2 separate regions of the Homo sapiens genome follow, and region 2 is linked to region 1. Evidence: promoter capture Hi-C in human tissues and cell types (Jung and others, 2019). All regions are on one chromosome and are shown on one strand. The core of a region is centred on a gene start or on the middle of the fragment in contact, and the rest is flanking DNA. Distances in the headings are between cores, read along the strand shown.

What was found. The method cuts DNA at HindIII sites, captures the fragments that hold promoters and counts their contacts. A contact is called where the count stands out against the background at its distance.
Region 2: a fragment that was not itself captured here is called in contact with the fragment with the promoter of GALR3 in region 1 in 1 of the 25 tissues and cell types used here (adrenal gland).

Annotation. Positions count from the first base shown.
Region 1 is chr22:37,820,975-37,827,295 of GRCh38, reverse strand. It overlaps GALR3 (galanin receptor 3), which reads right to left and starts at 3,914. Exons shown (of 2, transcript NM_003614.2): 1 at 3,531-3,914; 2 at 1,811-2,573. The coding sequence starts at 3,889. The coding sequence ends at 1,826. The HindIII fragment of the contact is 28,947 bases long and covers 1-6,321 here.
Region 2 is chr22:37,773,594-37,779,914 of GRCh38, reverse strand. It overlaps TRIOBP (TRIO and F-actin binding protein), which reads right to left. Exons shown (of 24, transcript NM_001039141.3): 24 at 3,359-6,132. Among named protein-coding and RNA genes, the nearest start is that of H1-0, 28 kb to the left of the region's middle. The HindIII fragment of the contact is 9,173 bases long and covers 1-6,321 here.

The DNA of each region.
Region 1 (6,321 bases), core at 2,665-5,164:
CCAAGCCTGGCAGCAGGCCATCCATCTTCCTGCCAAGTCCACGGCAAAAATATCTTCCCAGTCCTAGGCCAGGCCTCGTTGGCTTTCCTCAACAGAGCTCACGGAGCAGACTCTTTACCAGTCTCCTCACTTCCAAGAAGGGCCCAGGAGAACCCACCTGATCGGAGTCCTCTGCCAAGTCTAGGCCTCCATTCCAGCTTGTACACAGCAGCCCTGGGAGCTTTCTGAACTGCACATCTGATAGGCCCCCTCCTCTCCTGAAAACCTTCAGTGGCATCACCATCTGCCTGAAGGATGAAGCTCCTGCCCTCCAGGCCTCCCCTGCCCCAATCTCTCCCTGCCTCAGCTGCAGGAGCCACTTACTGCCCTGCACGTCCCCTGCCTTGCACAGGCTGTTGCTCTACCTGGCATGCCCCTCCCCACCTTTGTCCAAGAAAATACATGTCAAATGTTACCTCTGGGCCGGGCGCGGTGGCTCACGCCTGTAATCCCAGCACTTTGGGAGGCCAATGCCGGCGGATCGCTTGAGGTCAGGAGTTCAAGACCAGCCTGGCCAACACGGTGAAACCCCATCTCTACCAAAAAATAAAAATAATAAAAAAATACAAAAATTAGCCGGGTGTGGTGGCATACGCCTATAGTTGCAGCTAGTCGGGAGGCTGAGGCAGGAGAATCGCTTGAACCTGGGAGGCGGAGGTTGTCTTGAGCCAAGATTGTGCCACTGCACTGCAGCCTGGATAACAATCTCTCTCTCTCTCTCAAAAATAATAATAATAATAATAATAGAAAAAAAAAGAAAAAGTTACACAGCCATGGGTTTGTATCCAACCTCTGCCAAACACCAGCGGTGTGGCAAATCACTAAATCTCTATGATCCTTGATTTCTACATCTGTAAAATGGGGCTAAACAGCCGGGCACAGTGGTTCACGCCTGTTATCCCAGCACTTTGGGAGGCCGAGGCGGACGGATCATCTGCGGTCAGGAGTTCAAGACCAGCCTGTCCAAAATGGTGAAACCCCATCTCTATTAAAAAAAAAAATTAGTCGGATGTGGTGGTGGGCGCCTGTAATCCCAGCTACTCTGGAGGCTGAGGCAGGAGAATTGCTTGAACCCGGGGGACGGAGGTTGCAGTGAGCCGAGATGGCGCCACTGTAGTCCAACCTGGGAGACAAAACTCTGTCTCTAAAAGACAAAAAAAAAAAAAAAAAAAAAGGAAAGGTTAATCATATCTATTTGCAAAGCTGTTTTGACAAAGAATGTAGCATGAGGCATATGGTACCTGCTTAATAAATGTTTTTAGAGACAAGGTCTTGCTTTGCTGTCTAGGCTGGAATGCAGTAGCGTGATCATGGCTCACTGCAGCCTTGAACTGCTGCCTCAAGCGATCCTCCCGCCTCGACCTCCCAAAACGCTGAGATTACAGGCATGAGCCAAGCGCCTGGTCCCACTTAAATATTAGCCATTTATTAGCTGTTGATGTTAAATTACCTAGGACTGAGCTTGGAACCAAGAAGGAGATAGTTAAGAGGTGGTGGAGGAAGCAGGGCCTAGGTGTCACCCAGTTGGAAGAATGGGCAGAGGGACTGCCAGGCTGGCTCTGGGCAGGCTCTGGGGGCTGCCCTGCTGGGGGCGGGCTGTGCTGTTCATATTCACACCCAGGGGTGTCCACTGGGCTGGTGCTCCGCTGTGGAGCGGGGACAAGTCGCTCCACTCAACGCCCCTCAGAGAGCTCGTGGCATTGCCCCATCCCTGGCCCGGTGGCGTCCCGCCTTCGGAGAACGGGAGTGAGACAGACGGACACAGGCGGAGTCCAGGCGGCAGGGTTTATTCCGGTCCTCGGGCAGCCTCTCCGCCGTGGACGGGTCCCTCCCTGGGCTCCGGGCCCTGGCCGCCACCAGCCAGCAGCCTCCCGCTAGGCCGGGCGTCTCCGGGGCAGCCGGGTGGGCCCGAGGACGCGGGGCGGACGCGACGCAAGGCGCGGCGGGCACGGTGGCGGCGTCGGCGGCCGCACGGCCACAGGCGGCGGAAGCGCGCGCGGAAGTGGCGCGAGGCGAGCGCGTAGACGAGCGGGTTGAGGCAGGAGTTGGCGTAGGCCAGGCAGTGTGAGGCCAGGCGGCAGGCGTAGGTGGCCGGGCTGAAGGCGAAGCGGCCGTACCAGAAGCACAGGATGAGCGCGTGGTGCGGACCCCAGCAGAGCGCGTAGAGCGCGGCCACCGCCAGCATGGCGCGCCCCGCGCGGCCCGTCGCCCTCCGCCGCGCCTCGGCCGCCGCCGCGCCCGCGGGACCCACGGCGGCCCACAGGAAGCGCAGCGTGCGCCCGTAGGCCAGGCTCACCACAGCCACGGGCAGCAGGTAGCCGGCAGCGAAGGTGGCCACGTCCAGGGCGCGGCGGCGCGCGTCCTCCCAGGCGGGCACGCAGAGCTCCAGCGCGCCGTAGCGCACGGTGCCGTAGTAGCTGAGGTAGGGCGCCGAGAAGAGCGCCGCCAGCAGCCACACCAGCCCCACTGCGGCGCGGGCGTTACGCGGCGTGCGCAGGGCGCGCGAGCGCAGCGGGTGCCGCACGGCCAGGTACCTGCGGAGGGCGCCTGGTCAGCGGGGCGGGCAGGTGCCCTCCCGCAGGGGCCCGCGCCACGTCCCGCGCCCGGGCCCTGCGGCCCAGTGCGCCTCCTGTGAACCGTGGGGGACGTGGCGGGGATTAAGGGTGTGAACGCGCAAGGTGCTTAGGCCCTTGCACCTAGCAAGGGCCCGATCCCGGTGACTTGTTATTTCTAGGATTATTTTATGGATGCGTCAGATGAGGTCCAGAGAGAAGTGACTTGCCCAGGGTCATCAGCTGGAGTGAGCCTGGATTTGACCCCAAGTTTCAAGCTGTGGAAGCAGATGTGTGCACAGCTTGGCCAGGTGTGGGCAGTTAGAAAATAGCTGGGCTGGGCGCGGTGGCTCACGCCTGTAATCCCAGCACTTGGGAGGCCGAGGCGGGCGGATCACTTGAGGTCAGGGGTTCGAGACCAGCCTGTCCAACATGGCAAAACCCCGTTTCTACTAAAAATACAAAAAATTAGCCAGGTGTGGTGGCCTGTAATCCCAGCTACTCAGGAGGCTGTGGCAGGAGAATCGCTGGAACCCAGGAGGCAGAGGTTGCAGTGAGCCAAGATCCAAAAAAAAAAAACAACAAAACAAAACAAAACAAAAAAACTGATGAACGCATTCGTGAGCTTCTTTTGCGATTCATTTCGCGCTTACAGAGCACTTACTATGTGCCAGACCCTGTGCTGCCACTTGAGACTCAGAGGCGTCCTCTGGAAGTTCACAGTGGAGGAGGGGAAGGGCAGGACAGTCCCCTCAAGCACGCCCTGCAGGTGCCCAGAGGCTGCTTGCGAGGGGTCAGGGAGCTTTTGTTTCCTCCCACCCACCTCCCTTTCTGGTCCCCCACTCTCTCCTTCCTAAGGCCAGTGAGGATCTGTTCAGGACTCCTCCCCCAACCCCCGCCCCCACAGCCCTGCCCAGCCAGGCCCCAGGCACAGCGCACCTGTCCACGGAGACAGCAGCCAGCGTAAAGCTGCTGGCGTACATGGTGAGGTAGATGAGCAGGTGCACGGCCTTGCAGACGAGGGCCCCAAAGAGCCAGGCATCCAGCGTGTAGATGGTGGCCTGGAAGGGCACGCAGCACAGGATGAAGCAGAGGTCAGCCACCGCCAGGTTGAGGATGAACAGGTCCGTGGTGCTGCCAGGCTCCTGCCAGGCACTCGGGCCAGGCTGCAGGAGCACTGCCAGCACCAGCCCATTGCCCACTGTGCCCAGCAGGAAGATTAGGGCAAAGACCACAGGCACTGCCACGGCCCCCACACTCCCTGGGCTGTCCAGTGAAATGTTCTGGGCATCAGCCATCTCCCCATCAGACGGGCACCTGGGAAGAGAAGCTGGAATCCTCAGGCAAGAGCCCCCAGTTCTGGTTGCTTGACCCCGGGATCTAACTCCCCCGACCTGGGTCTGGCCAGGTGTTCTGGGCTGGAAGCTCGTGGGAGATGGAGGAGGGGAGAGCAGAGCCAAAGTCATCGCTGAGTGTCACTGTGTGAGCAAGCTCGTGGTGTTCAAGGGGTGAGAGTTCCTCAGTTTCCTAAGGAACACCCCTGGAGTCCTGCCTGGAGGACTACCTAGGTATTTGAGGGACACTTTCAACCCACGAGGCTGGGGAAGGCACAAGCGAAGTAGGATGAAGATATGGCGATGGGGGGAGGGGCCAAACCCAGAAACTGGTATGTTTTCCTTCTCAATGGGGATCTGAAGCTCAGGGGAGACCCTGGGACATGGGTTTAGGGCTTTCTCTGGCTACAAGCTGTAGCCTTAGCAAAACACGGGTAACATCCCTGAGTCATTGGAGGGTCCAGTATAGTGAGATCATCACAATGGCAAAACTGGGAAGACCGTGTAGGTCACTGCTTCCTCTCTGCACATAGGGAAATTGAGGCCCAGAGAGGGGACATGGGAGGATAATATCACACTCGAAATGGCAGCTCTGGGGCTGTTGCCACCCTGGTATCCTGCCTCTTAAGCTAGAGTGCTCATCTGAGAGCTTGTAACAGGTGGTGCCTCTGACAACTTGTGTGTGTGCACACCGCACCCATGCTCACCCCCATCCCACTCTACAGCCCATGTCTCCTACTGCCTGTGGATCTCCTTGCAGGCTTGAGACCACTGGGGTGGTGGGACAAAGTAGGGGAAAGGGGGGTCAGGCAGGGAGTAGGGAAGAAAGGCAATGTCTGCCCCCATCCCAGCACCCAGCATGCAGTAGGTCCCCAAAGCCCAGGATGGGCAACACCCACCTCCGCCTTGGGCAGTGGGCTTGATCCTGGGTGGAATGGCCGGGCTGGGTGGGCCTCCTGATTCAGCGGCTGCCCCTTGGTGCCTCCCTGCAGGTACTGGTCTGCCTTCTACTTCTCCCCCTTTGCCTTTAAGGCCCCTCCTCTCCTCTGCCCCCTCTGCTGAGCCGGAGTTGGGCACTCCCTCTGGAGTAGCCACTGGCCACTTCCTCCTCAGTCCCTGATTTCCCCCAGGTGGCAGGCTCTTCTGCCTGGCTCTTCTCTGCCTCTCTGCGTTGCTGCTGCCTTTTCCTCTCTCTGCAGCCAGTAACCCATTGATCTCGCTCTCTGTGATTTGCTTTGTAGTTAACCCCTCTGTGCCCAGGGCCCAGCCAGTCTCTGGCACTCCCACCTCCTGTGGCCCAGCCTGATGTGACTCCATCCCCTATCCCTGCACCTTCTTGCTCCAATCCATGTTTAGAAAAGGTTCCTAGGCCGGGCATGGTGGCTCACGTCTGTAATCCCAGCACTTTGGGAGGCTGAGGCAGGCAGATCACTTGAGGCCAGGAATTCGAGACCAGCCTGGCCAATGTGGCGAAACCTTGTCTCTACTAAAAATACAAAAATTAACTGAGCGTCGTGGCGGGCGCCTGTAATCCCAGCTACTCTGGAGGCTGAGGCAGGAGAATCGCTTGAACCTGGGAGGTGGAGGTTGCAATGAGCCGAGATGACGCCACTGCACTCCAGCCCAGGTGATGGAGTGAGACATTGTCTCAAAAAAAAAAAAAAAAAAAAAAAGAAGAGGCTGGGCGCGGTGGCTCATGCCTGTAATCCCAGCACTTTGGGAGGCCAAGACAGGTGGATCATGAGGTCAGGAGTTCAAGACCAGCCTGGCCAAGATGATGAAACCCCATGTCTACTAAAAATACAAAAATTAGCTGGGTGTGGTGGCGGGCACCTGTAATCCCAGCTGCTCGGGAGGCTGAGGCAGAGAATTGCTTGAAGCCAGGGGTTGGAGGTTGCAGTGAGCCAAGATCGTGCCACTGCACTCCAGCCTGGGCGACAGAGCGAGATTCCGTCTCAAAAAAAAAAAAAAAAAAAAAAAAAAAAAGGATTCCTAGTCTTGACTGGGGTTTCCTGGAGTGGGAAACCAGGACTTGAGTCTCCTTTCGGCAGACTCCAGAGACTCCTCCCTCAGGCTCTGCAAATCCTGAGATCCTTCTCCGGAAGCTCTTTCCAGAGCCTTAGTCCAGCTGGAGCCCAGATGGTTTAGGTACCTGTCCAAAAAGTCTGGCTTTACCTGATAGCAACGGGGAACTACTAAGATTCTACAGCAGAGACATGACCCGCACATTTTCTTTCTTTCTTTCTTTTTTTCCCCCCACATTATCTTTTGTAAAAAGTTTGTTATGGGCCAGGCGCAGCGGCTCACACCTGTAATCCTAGCACTTTGGGAGGCTGAGGTGGGCGGATCATCTGAGGTCAAGAGTTCGAGACCAGACTGGCCAACATGGCAAAACC
Region 2 (6,321 bases), core at 1,567-4,066, 46 kb after region 1:
TGAGCCAAGGCACTGCTCACATAAAATTCCCCAATAGCCTCCCACTGGGTTAAGCACAAAGCTAGAGCTTGGACACATGACCCCCACTGTCCTTGCAAAATCAGATTCCAGCTCCAGCCTGTCCCCGCAGGCTCATCTCGAATCCCTCTACACACAAGCTGCAGCCATTTCAGAGCCTTTGAACTCTGCTGAGCTTCTGACGCTCACTGGACCTGGCACTCTCTCCCCCTCTCAGCCTAGCTCTATCCTGCTCGGTTCCAGCATCTCCTCTTCCAAGAAGCCTCCCCTGACCTTCCAGGCTGGGCCTGCTACACCCTCTGTGCTGTGGCTTCTTGTAATTAATCACCTGATTCCAATTTCACCTCCCTCCTGAAGGGAGAATGCTTGGTTCCATGTTGCATCCCCGGGGCCTACTCCAGAGGCTGACTCACGAGGCAGAATACACTGAACAGGAACGGGCTGCAGGGAGGACAGGGCCTTGATGGCAGCCTTAAGACTGAGGCTGACCAGGTCTTAGGAGTTCATGGAAAAGGTCTGGGCTGGAGACAGATGTGGATGGTTAGCACAGACAGTAACAAAAGCCAAGGATGAGAGATCAAGTTTTCACAAGAGGCCGGGCATGGTGGCTCACGCCTGTAACCCCAGCACTTTGGGAGGCCGAGGCAGGGGGATCACTTGAGGTCAGGAGTTCGAGACCAGCCTGGCCAACATGGTAAAACCCTGTCTCTACTAAAAATACAACAATTAGCCAGGTGTGGTGACGGCTGCCTGTAGTCCCAGCTACCCAGGAGGCTGAGGCAGGAGAATCCCTTGAACCTGGGTGGTGGATGTTGCAGTGAGCCGATTGTGCCATTGCATTCCAGACTGGGAGACAGAGTGAGACTCCGTCTCTAAGTAAGTAAATAAATAAGTCTTCACGAGAGAACAGAGGATTGCTGAGGACAGACTCCAGGGAAGCACATCAGAGGGCTGGGAAGAAAATGAGAATTCCACATAGGGGACTAAAGAGGAGCTGGGGTGTAGCTGAAGCAGAAACAGAGGAAAAAGATGGCTGCCAGTGAACCACACCTCCGGCGCTCAGGCCCTGCTGCCGCCTCTCCCATTGGACCTGGGCTGGCTGTGCGACTCATTTTTGACTAAAGTGATGGAAGGGATGCTGCAGCACCTCCAAGCCAAATTCATAAGAAGCTCGTAGGTTCCACTTGGGGCTGTTGAGGCTCCCTTTACTTTTTATTGTTTTTATTTTTTTAGAGATGGGTCTCACTCTGTTGCCCAGGCTGGAGTGCGGTGGCAGCAATCACAGTTCACTGCAACCTCCAACTCGTGGGCTCAAGCAATCATCCTGCCTCAGCCTCCCAAGTAGCTGGGACTCCAGGCACATGCATCACCATGCCTGGCTTTTGTTTTGAGAAGGAGTCTCACTCTGTTCCCTAGGCTGGAGTGCAGTGGCGCAATCTCAGCTCACTGCAACCTCCGCCTCCCAGGTTCAAGTGATTTCCCTGCCTCAGCCTCCTGAGTAGCTGGGATTACAGGTGCATGCCACCATGCCTGGTTAATTTTGTATTTTTAGTAGAGATGGGGTTTCTCCATGTTGATCAGGTTGGTCTCGAACTCCTGACCTCAGGTGATCTGCCTGCCTCGGCCTCCCAAAGTGCTGGGATTACAGGTGTGAGCCACCTCACCCGGGCTGCTTGGCTATTGTTTTTTTGTTTTTTTAATTTCTTGTAGATACGAGGTTTTGCTGTGTTGCCCAGGCTAGTCTCGAACTAACTCTTGGCCTCAAGTGATCCTCCTGCCTCGGGCTCCTGAAGTGCTGGATATACAGTCGTGAGCCACTGTACCTGGCCAGAACTCCTCTTCTAGGGGGAAGTCAACCACAATGTAGGAAGTCAGATTGTCCCAAGTCCACTATGCTGTAAGGAGCCCAAGCTAGCCCCGTGAAGTGGCCATGTGGAGAAAGATGTCCAGGCCGGGCACGGTGGCTCACGCCTGTAATCCCAGCACTTTGGGAGGCCAAGGTGGGTGGATTACTTGAGGTCAGGAGTTTGAGACCAGCCTGGCTAATGTGGTGAAACCCCATTTCTACTAAAAACATAAATAATTAGCTGGGCGTGGTGGCGGGCACCTGTAATCCCAGCTACTTGGGAGGCTGAGGCAGGAAATCACTTGAAGCCAGGAGGCAGAGGTTGCAGTGAGCCGAGATCACACCACTGCACTCCAGCCTGGGCGGCAGAGCGGGACTTTATCTCAAAAAAAGACACAAAGAGGTTGAGCCAGGTCAACCCACAGGACCATGAATATTTAAAAAGTGGTATTCTAGGCCATTACATATGTGGTTGTTGGCGACACAGCAATAGATAACTGAAACAGTTGGTAATTTAACACCTACACAGTCCTCTGGGGTAGACGTTATTGTTCCCATTTATCAGAAGAGGAAGTAAAGCCCAGAGAGAGATGTGACTCAGTAAGGCTCACCTAGCCAGCTGGAGGCAGCAGGTAGGGTTTGACCTGGCAGGTTCATCTGAAACCAGTTTGTTTTCTTTACAGAGCACATGCCTGGCTGCCTGAAGCAGTTGACCAGAACTTGCAGCCAAACCACGTGGTTTTGGTCAAATTCCCTGCGGCCGCGGTGACAGGGCCATTTCCCAGGTGGCTCATCTGGGAGCCTGCTGGAACCCTGGCTTATTCTTTTGTAAAGCAGGCTTCTTCCCACCCCCTGCACCATTGAGACGTGATTCACACATAGTAAAAATGAACAAATCGTAAGTGCAAGGCGTGGCATTTTTTTTTTTTTTTAAACAAAGTCTCGCTGTGTCATCCAGGCTGGAGTGCAATGGCGCGATCTGGGCTCACTACAACCTCCGCCTCCCGGGTTCAAGCAATTTTCCTGCCTCAGCCTCCCGAGTAGCTGGGATTACAGGCATGCGCCAGCAAGCCCGGCTAATTATTTGTATTTTTAGTAGAGACGGGGTTTCGCCATGTTGGCCAGGCTGGTCTCGGAACTCCTGAGTTCAGGTCATCCACCTACCTTGGCCTCCCAAAGTGCTGGGATTATGCCTGGCCGGCATGGTGAATTTTTACATCTGTATGTACCCACGTGACCACAACCCAGACCATGATATAGAACATTTCTGGGATCAGAATGTTCCCTTTTGCCCACTGCTGGTCAATGCCCTCAGCTCAGAGGTACCCGCTCTTCTGACCACTATCACCGTGTTTTGTCTGTTCTTGAACCTCACCTAAATAAAATCGTACAGCCTTACACTCTTCTGTGGCTATTTTTGCTCAACATTGTGTCTGAAAGATTCACCAACATTTTTGTGTGTAGCAGTTGTTTTTAAATTGCTGTATTCTAACGTATGAATCGACCACAATTTATTCATTCTACTACTGACACACAGCTGTATTGTTTATTTGCTGATGTGAGTATTACGGTACTCATCCTTTTGTGCATGTAAGGACTCATTTCTCCTGGATGTGTAAGCAAGAGTGGAAATGCTAGGCCATAGGGTAGATGCGTATTTAACTTGATGAGAAGCTGGTCAGTTTCCTGCCGTGGGTGCAACAAAGCACATTTGCACCAGCAGCGCCTGGGAGCTGCTCTTCTCCGTATCCCCACCAGCACTTGGTACTGGCAGACCTTCTCCTCTGAGCTATTCTGATAGTGGGGCAGTGCGATTTCACGGTTTTTAATGAGATGTGGAGCACCTTTCAGAGGCTGGCCTGGTTTTTGTAGCTGCCCTAGGCAGCCCTGAGGAGGGATGGGAGGGGGGTTGGTGAAGAGGATGTTCCTGCAACCCAGGTGTGAGACGGGGGAGCCCTGAGTTAGGTTGAGGCTAGAAGGGAGGCAGAGGATGGGATGGAGAGCTGTCTTGGGGGGACGGTGGGATGGTGAGGATGGACGGCAGAGCTGCCAGTGGCAGGCATCCCATCTCCCAGTGGCTAGGAACACTCCTGATCTCCTAAGGCAAGCAGTGCCGAGACAGGGCAGCACAAGGCCGGAGGATTTGATGGCACGGGGTCCTGGCTCTTTCTTCTTTGCCATTTTTAGCTATTGATGAGGGAAGATGGCGACAGGGCCAGGAGAGAGGTGTCCTCTCCTTGCGCCACCCTCCCCCTTTTTTTTTGAGATGGAGTTTCGCCCTTGTCACACAGGCTGGAGTGCAGTGGCGCGATCTTGGCTCACTGCAACTTCTGCCTCCTGGGTTCAAGTGATTCTCCTGCCTCAGCCTCCTGAGTAGCTGGGATTACAGGTGCTTGGCACCACGTCTGGCTAATTTTTTGTATTTTTAGTAGAGACGGGGTTTCACCATGTTGGCCAGGCTGGTCTCGAACTCCTGACCTCAAGTGATCCCCCTGCCTTGGCCTCCCAAAGTGCTAGGATAATAGGCAAGAGCCACCGCGCCCGGCCTCTTGTGCCTCTTTTTAAGACCAAGGACACCCTTCCCAGATGACCTCCTCCACCCCACTCCCAAGACTTCCCCTCGCATTTCACTGGCTTGCGTGAACTGCAAGCCTTGTCCATTCCTCAACCAATCCCTGGCAAGGGAATGGGAAACAATCTCTTCCCACTCCACGAGGTCACTCTCCTGTGGCTCTTTGCCTGAACACACCAGGGACGTTTGCTCCTGCTGGTGCCTCCACGTGGGAAGGCCCTTCCTGATTCTTCCATCTGGAAGAGTCATCTTTCAAAGCTGCCTCCAAAGGCAGTCTTCTACCTGCAGGCTGGGTCAGGGTCTCCTCTGGGTTCTCACAGCCTTCCAGGACCCCTACTGGATGTGGCCTGTTTCTGTGGCTCAGAAATGGGACCTCTTCCCAGCCCCATGCAACCATAATCAGCACAGCCAGCCATGGTGAGGACTCCCAGCCCGCTGGACCTGTGCCTGGCAGCCACAACCCTGCCCTCACCCCTGCCCAGGGCTGGGCATGACCTCTGGGAAAAGCCTCAGGAGAGGACTGGGACTGAAAGAAAAACACCCATTTGATGGAGAAGCAAACTGAGGCTCAGTGAGGGGTGTGACTTGCCCAAGGTCATGGTCAGGGCTAGTCTTAGCCCCAGGCCTCTCTCTCAGGCCTGGGCCCTGGGCCCTACTCCAGGGCTCCTCAGACTTTGAAGGTCACGTGAATCACTGGGGCACCCTGTTAAAATGCAGACGCTGGTTCAGTAGGTTGGGGTGGGACTGGACTTGCTATTTCCCACATGCTTCCGCTGCCACTAGCCTGCAAGCCACACTGGGGGCGTCACAGTCTGTACTAAGGGAGACCTTGGATTTTCAGCCCCACCCTCAGAAGCCTAGAGGCCGCTGCTTTAGGAAGGGTGGGGTGTGGGTAGGGTGTGAGTGGGGAAGCCACTTCAAGAAACCCCAATCTCCATTCCTGTTCTGCCAGCCATCTAGGACACCAGAGCTGCTGGAACGTTTTATTAAGTTAAGAGGTTCAGGGAGCAGAAGAGAAACACCTTTTGGGTGGCTCTGGCGGTTCTGCACCCAGCACAGCCTCGAAGGAGGCTGTGGGGCCATGGAGGCCAGCTGCTAGCTCCCTCTGTCCTGAGCCCCATGGTACGGGTCCAAATGGGGCAGGAAGTGTTAGTAGGAGGTAGGGCAGGAAGAGGGTGGCAGGCTCCCGCCTCTCCCCTGTAGAGACACCCCGCCATGGCTGCTGCCTGGGCCTCCGCCAGACCTCTGGGCCAGGGCCACCAGCTCAGAAGCCCAAGCAGAGGGTGGCTGGAGACAGAGGGGGACCAGGGTTGGAGGCACACAGCCACCAGGAATTGCTTTTTTTTTTTTTTTTTAAAGTATAAAGTGTTTTGGAAAAAAAGGAAAAAAATCTATATAAAAATCTCTTCACATATAAAATCCTGAAGAAGGTGCAAGGTGAGACCCAGTGCGAGGGGCGCGCTCAGATATGCAGTGTGTGTGTGTGTGTGTGTATCCGTGTGTACATGTGTGCACGTGTGTGCGTATGTGTCTGTGTGTCTGTGTGTGTGTGTGTGTGTGTGTGTGTGTGTGTGGTGGGTGCAAGTGCACGTGTGGCCCACAGAGGGTGGGGAGAAAGCTTGGCTTTTTACTTCCATCCAGGAGGGAAGGAGGGCGGCTGGTCCTCCAGCCTGGAGGGTCTGCAGCTGGGCGGGACCTGAAAGACAAGGTGCGGCAGGGCTGAGGCCTGGGCTGAGGGGCTGCGAGGCCACCCCAAGGCCAAGCAAGGGTGCTGAGTGGGTCCTTCCACCACCTCTCAGCCCCTAAGGTACAGCCAGATCCGCTCTTCCTGGCTCCTTCCCAAGCAGCTCAGCCATAGGGTGGCCTCTCCTGCATGCCATAGGAA